Linked DNA regions of Homo sapiens: region 2 is linked to region 1. The links are contacts of gene promoters, found by promoter capture Hi-C in human tissues and cell types (Jung and others, 2019). All regions are on one chromosome and are shown on one strand. Each heading gives the region's core, a stretch centred on a gene start or on the middle of the fragment in contact. The rest is flanking DNA. Distances are from core to core; before and after follow the strand shown.

Region 1 (3,333 bases), core at 566-3,065:
TGTCGGTCAGGCTGGTCTTGAACTCCTGGGCTCAACTGATCCTTTGGCTACAGCCTCCCAAAGTGCGGGATAACAGGCATAAGCCACTGAATGTTCTTATTTTTATTATCATCTGTCCCCCCAACCCCCACTAGAATGTAAGATACAGGAGGGGTTTGTTTCAGTGCCTTGCCACATTCTCAGGGCCTGGAATTGTGCCTGCAACCAAACAGGTGCTCAAGTATTTGTTGAATGAATAAATGATTTATCAGTCAGTCTCTTAGGAGTTTAGTTAGCAGGACTTGGTTGGCAAGAATCAGAGAAGTCGGGAGCCAGCCAAGAGGGGGAGGCGGAACTGCCCTGCACAGGTACTTCCCGGAGCCCCAGCTGCCTGCTCTCTTTTTAGCAGCCACACCAACAATGTATCCGTTTTTAAAGCAAATGAGGAAATAATGGTTCAACCTGGGCCTCATTCAAGTGAGAATGGCGTCATCATTACCCTGTACCTGCCCTTTAGCAAAATAGAGGGGGAAGGCCCTGCTCTGTAACCTGATGGCCTAGCAACAAGGGGCAAGGGTTAGTTGGGACAATATAGGGAGGTGACTGTCCATCCTCACCTTAATGGACATGAGGGGAGGGGAGGGAAGGATGGGGCAAGAAAGTGCAGGCAGAAAGATGGAGCAGGCAAAGATGAGGAAGCAGGCCAGGCTAGGGGCTGTCAGGGACCTTCCCCAGCGTCCCCTCCTCCCTGGTCCTGTACCCAGCTGGGTCCCAGACACTCTCCACTCCCCACCTGCCTCTATAAGGAAGGCAGCCTCGTGTATGTCAGGCCCCTGGGGGAGCCTTAACTTCACCATCCTCTCACGGCCCTCCTCCTGGTCAGAGAATCCCAACCTCCCAGGCCCCACCAGAATTCCCCAGCCCTCCACGGGGCCTCGCCCACCGGGCAGAGCTGTGAGGGTCTCAGGGGGGGCTTCTGCTCCCGATCAGGGACCTGGGGCAGAGTGATGAGGATGCACCTGCCCAGGGAATCTTCCCTCCAAACAGCCCAGCCAAAGGCTGGAAGCTGAGCAACTTCCCTGCCTGTGTGCCCCGGAGGTCCCCACACTGGCCTGCTTGGCCTGCCCATCTCCATCACTCCTAGGGCCCTGCAGGGTGAAGAGAGTGTTCCAGAACTGTCCAGCCATCCTCCAGCACACACCTCCCCACTAGTAACTCCCTTCCCAGCCGAGGCGCCCTCCACCATGGGGGTTCTGACACCAGGGTCCCAGCTGGGGGACTTCTCCCTGCAGCAGGCTATGCCACTTACCTTCCTCCCGTGCCTTGGAGAAGCTGCTGGCAGCTGTAAGAGAGGTAAGGGCGATAAGGAGAGGGCCTGGTGTGGAGGGGAGACCAGAGACAGCCTCGAGACCCACCTGCTGAAGCCAGGAGGGAGGAGCAGGCTGATTCTTGGTAGTGAGGCCCCAGGACTCAGCTGGCACCATCACTCACAAAAGCTCTTTTGCGCCCCTCCCCCCACAACATCGCCTCTCATCCGCCCATTTCGCAGATGGGTAAGTAGTGAGCCCAGAATGGTGCAGAAATCCCTGGACCACATATACAGCAAGTTTAGGGGCTGGTCCGAGACTCAAGCCCAGATCTTTCCCTCTCTGTCCATGTTTCCAGAGGTGCCCTTCCTTCAGGCCTCATCTCTCCTGTGCTCCCAGTACCCCCACCTGAGCCCAAGACCTCAAGGCCCCAGCAGCAGCCCCACCATCACGTCCCTGGTGGACTCACCCAGCACGGCCAAGCAGAACAGCCCAGGGAGCCCCATGCCTCGGTGGGTGTAGGGCCTCTGCTCGGGCAGTGAGAACCTCCTAGTTCCTGGCCTCCCCCACCCTGAGGCCCCTGGGATGCTCCCTGGGTGGGTGCCTGCAGTGGGGAGATAACCTGGAGGCCGCAGCACCCCAGGGCCTCAGCTACCAGGGCGGGGCCCAGAGAGCCCCGGCAGGCCCGGTACAGCAAACTCCCCCTCAATCCCCAGAGAAGTGGAAGGAGTTTGGACCTTGAAGCCAGACCAGGGCTTAGACTCAGCAGTCACCTCTGAGCCGCAGGATCCCGGGCTCACGTGGTGGGCAGAAGGTGTCCATGCTCCGCGGGGCACAGTGGCTCACACCTGTAATCCCAGCACTTTGGGAGGCCTGGATGGGCGGATCACCTGAGGTCAGGAGTTCGAGACCAGCCTGGCCAACATGGCGAAACTCCATCTCTACTAAAAATCAGCCGGGCGTGGTGGCGTGCGCCTGTAATCCCAGCTACTCGGGAGACTGAGGCAGGAGAATTGCTTGAACCCAGGAGGCGGAGGTTGCAGTGAGCCAAGATCACGCTACTGCACTCCAGCCTGGGCAACAGAGTGAGATTCCATCTCAAAAAAAAAAAAAAAAAAAAAGATGTCCACGCTGTAACTTCTGGAGCCCGTGAGCACCATGCTACGCGGCAAGGGGAATGAAGGCTGTGAGTCTTCTCATTTTGAGAGGAGGAGCCCGTCCTACATGACCCAGGTGACCCTCATGTAATCACTGGGGCCTTTCCAAGCAGCTGGGGACCTGCTGGGCTGAGAAAAGGCAGCCCCACCCATGATGGTTCACAGCCGGGAGGCCAAGGCTGCACCCAGCCCCAGAATGAAACCCCAGACCGACGAGGCCCCTGGTCCTGGAGTGTGATGGGTCCTGGAGTCCTGGGTCCCGGAGCGTGGTGTGCCCAAGCACCGCCCTTCAGAAGTCCCTCAGGCCCCACTGAGGGTGGTGGGAGGTCACATGGATGGTCATTCCCCAGGGAACTGGCCCCAGTGCTGGCCTTGGCCAGCAGCAGACCCAGCTGCATCGCAGGCAGTGTGTGTGCAGAGTTCAGCCACAGAGCCTCCTGCACATGCAGGGAGGGTGGGGGTGAGCAGGGCCTCCCAGAGCCCCGAGGCCAGGGCTGGGGCCAGGCATTCCCCGGAACACAGAGAGATGTAAGGGCGCAAGGGATTGAGGCTGGGGCCCTGCCAGCTCCGCTGTGGGCCACTGCACCCGGCTTTGTGCCCAAGCTCAGCCTGGGGCTGCTGGACCAGCCTGTCACTTTCTGGCCCGGCTCAGTTTCCCACACTTTGTGTGGGGAATGCCTTTTCTGGCTGCCTCCTTCAGGAATATGTCCCCTGCCACCAGGTGACCATTGCCTCCTGTGGGAGCTGCTGCCACCTGTGGCTCCTGACCGGTCAATCACACTCTCTGCCCCTGGGCACCGTCCAGGAGTGAACACCTGACCAAGGGAGGCCACTCACAGCCCCGGCCCAGCTCTCCTCTCAGCCTTTCCCAGGCACTTGCTGCACCGGAG
Region 2 (3,333 bases), core at 399-2,898, 56 kb after region 1:
GGAAGTTCAGAGTTAAATTTAATGCTTGAGAGTGAGATTACCTCCTATGGTTATCATTTTTGCTTCCACCTTACTCGTGTGTCCATCAGTAAAGAGTTCCCGATGGGGACACCAGTTTGGAGTAAGACAGACTGCTTGGATGGAGGGGAATAACCAACAGAAATGCACCCTAGTATTTACAGCTGCAGTTCCCATACATACTGTATATTTGATTTTCTATTTATGTTTTACCATTTTATTGAAAACATTTCAGCAGACTCAAGTTTTTGTTGATGAATATAGATACATAAAAAAAGTACACAGGCTATGACCTAGATTCTTTGCTGCTCTGGGGTTTTCAAATTATTTCTAAGTTTGTAGCTAAGATCTAATGGTTGGGTTTTAAGAAGTTTGATCAGTGACTAGCTGAGATCTTATATGCACTATAATGGAATGGGTTATTTTAAATCCAACTTTCAGTGCTCAATTCTTAGAAAAGTATAGAATGGCCATGCTATACAACAGGACGATCGATTAATAAGCCAGCAGTGATCCCACCACAGGCATCCTAGCTCAGACGTACCATGCTTGCTAGGGTTCTGCTCCAGGGGGGAAGCGGCACTGGGCAAGTTATCCATGGAGTTGGGGTGCGTCCACTGGGGGAGGCGTGACTGGGACTGGGATGGGTCCTTCACCGACAAGCCACCGGTCATGTCCATGCTGTTGACATTCATGTTTGGGTTCAGTCCAGCTAAAGAGAGAGATGCGGTTAGGATTCGCCTGCTCCTCTAAATGACTTCATTCTAAAGCTCTCCTATAGAAGCTATTTCAGTCTTCGCTTACAGCAAATTTTTTTTTTTTTTTGAGACGGAGTCTTGCTCTTGATGCCCAGGCTGGAGTGCAATGGCACAATCTTGGCTCATTGCAACCTCCGCCTCCCAGGTTCAAGCGATTCTCCTGCCTCAGCCTCCCAAGTAGCTGGGATACAGCAAAATATTTTAACTATAACTTTTAGTGCTGGTGAAAAAATACTACTTATCGTCATAACAACATGTATTTCTAGGAATATTATTCCTAAATTAAGGTGAAAATGTGAATAGTCTTTGATTAAGTAAGGCCCACAATTCTCTTCATTTTACTTGTTTCAGTGCTGAATAAACATGGTCCTGAGGCTTCTCAGAGTCCACAGGAAAATAGAAAAAGTCCAAACTATTAGGAAAATCTTTCTTTGTTTTGGGATATCTTACGGAAACTCATCAGGTCAAAAACACTTTTCCAGAACTCTAAAGTACCACCTATGAAACAGACTGATAGGATAATTCAGTTCTACCTTTAGTGAGTTTCCTTTACAAAAGTCTGCTCTGAAAGAGTCTGTGAATTAAGTATCAAACTACTTTTAAGGAACTGAACTATTTGACAGCGGGGGTGCTGCCATCTGCCCCCAGCTGGGATGGTGAGCTGAGGCTTCTGGGCTCATTCCTTATAGCTAAAAGCAGGTACCTGGTTATTTGTCCAGGACCTGCACTAAGCTAGGTTAATAAAGAAAGATGATGAGGAGGACAATGAAAAGAAGGTTGAAGTAAAGAGTTTCTGATGAGGACACTAGTTTGGAGCAGGACAGACTGCTTGTTTGGAAGGGAATAACCAGCACAAGCGCCCCCCTCCCCTTGTATTTCCAGCTGCAGTTCCCCTTACCACATACACATACCCCATAGGTCCTTACCGTAAGTACTACGCCACACGGTACGTAAGCACAGTGAGCCTCTACTACTTAGCCAGGTGCTGAACATTCTGGTTCTTACCTTTATTTCAGAGGCTGCAAATTCAAATGCCCATAGGAGCCAGGTGGGCCATGCACATGAAGAAGTGGGCTTCATGGGGACTGTGGCAAACCAGAGAGTGTCTGTCCTGTCTAAATAAACAGGTGCTACTGGGGCCAACCACCTATTGCTACCTGGAACATAGACCCACTATAGCCATTTTTAAGAGAAGCCAGAAGCCACTTTCCCCAATTTTTGAATGTTGGCATTAACACACACCTATGCACATGCACACACACACTTCGCAGACCTAACAAAACGCCTTTGCAAGCCCATCAGTGCCACAGGGCTGCCTACTTGCAATCTCTGCTGTGTGGGTTCTTTTCGTTTCAGCTTGTACAGATCTAGCCAGGTAAGGTGGCAACAATGTCAGGGCTTCAACCTGGCCTTCAGAATGCTCCAAATTTCACAATTTGGCGCCAACCCATCTCTCCCAACTTTCCCCTCTGGGAAAGTCAGCTAGACTGGCCTGGCCCTTGCAAAATGGGCCCCTGAAACAAGCCAGGCCTCTTTCTTCTGTGCTACGTGAGGCTTCCCCTTTATTTGGAAAGGCTTCCTCTTTATTTACTGTAATCCTATCCAATCATTTGAGGTTCAAGCTTAATCCTACTCTCTGATTTTTCTTTCACCACTCAAAGTGAAAGTGAACTTTTCCTTCTCTAGAGCCCTGTAAGAATCACATGACACTGGTATCAAGGTTATTTTTTCCCATTTATATGCCTGCTCTTCCTATCTAGATGGCGAACTCCAGGTGGCAAAAGACTGAGAATAACAACGACAGGCTGAACATGAGGGAAGGAAGGTAGCTAGGAGCCCCCACTACTGACCATGGGCTGCTGGTTTCTTTACATGAATTGATGAGTGTCTAACAGGCTCTTCAACATAGGTGCTGCTGCAGAGAAATGCTGAGAGCCAACAAGATAGGCAATTTTACAACCAAAGTTTCCTAGACTTTATTAGTTATTTGCTTTTAATACATTTATAACTTTACTGTGAATATTATAAAATATTATCCAAATTATTTTTCAACTAATTTCAAAGATTCACTGCATGAATTCTTTAACTTGTACTAAGAGAAAAAATCCTTAAGAGTAAAGATAAGTGGTCGGGCACGGTGGCTCACGCCTGTAATCCCAACACTTTGGGAGGCTTAGGTGAGCGGATCACTTGAGGTCAGGAGTTTGAGACCAGCCTGGCCAACATGGTGAAACCCAGTCTCTACTAAAAATACAAAAATTAGCCAGGCGTGGTGATGCATGCCTGTAATCCCATCAATTTGGGAGGCTGAGGCAGGAGAATTGCTTGAATCCAGAAGGTGGAGGTTGCAGTGAGCCGAGACTGCGCCATCGCACTCCAGCCTGGGCAACAGAGCAAGACTCTATCTCAAAAAAAAAAAAAAAAAAAAAAAAAAGTAACGATAAGTGTACTTTATCCTCCAAATATAGGTTAAGAAGACAGGTGAATAATAGAAAGCTGAAGCTAATGCATTTTAGGATAATAGGTGGGATGAAATTTGTTTCTAAAACAGAAGCAC

The links. Contacts are between HindIII fragments. The study calls those that stand out against the background at their distance.
Region 2: a fragment that was not itself captured here is called in contact with the fragment with the promoter of C17orf99 in region 1 in 1 of the 25 tissues and cell types used here (spleen).

What each region holds. Positions count from the first base shown.
Region 1 is chr17:78,144,867-78,148,199 of GRCh38, reverse strand. C17orf99 (chromosome 17 open reading frame 99) reads right to left here and starts at 1,815. Exons shown (of 5, transcript NM_001163075.2): 1 at 1,756-1,815; 2 at 1,289-1,321. The coding sequence starts at 1,792. RefSeq lists an enhancer at 573-792. The HindIII fragment of the contact is 10,351 bases long and covers 1-3,333 here.
Region 2 is chr17:78,088,837-78,092,169 of GRCh38, reverse strand. TNRC6C (trinucleotide repeat containing adaptor 6C) reads right to left here. Exons shown (of 23, transcript NM_001142640.2): 16 at 563-730. Among named protein-coding and RNA genes, the nearest start is that of TMC6, 38 kb to the left of the region's middle. The HindIII fragment of the contact is 5,688 bases long and covers 1-3,333 here.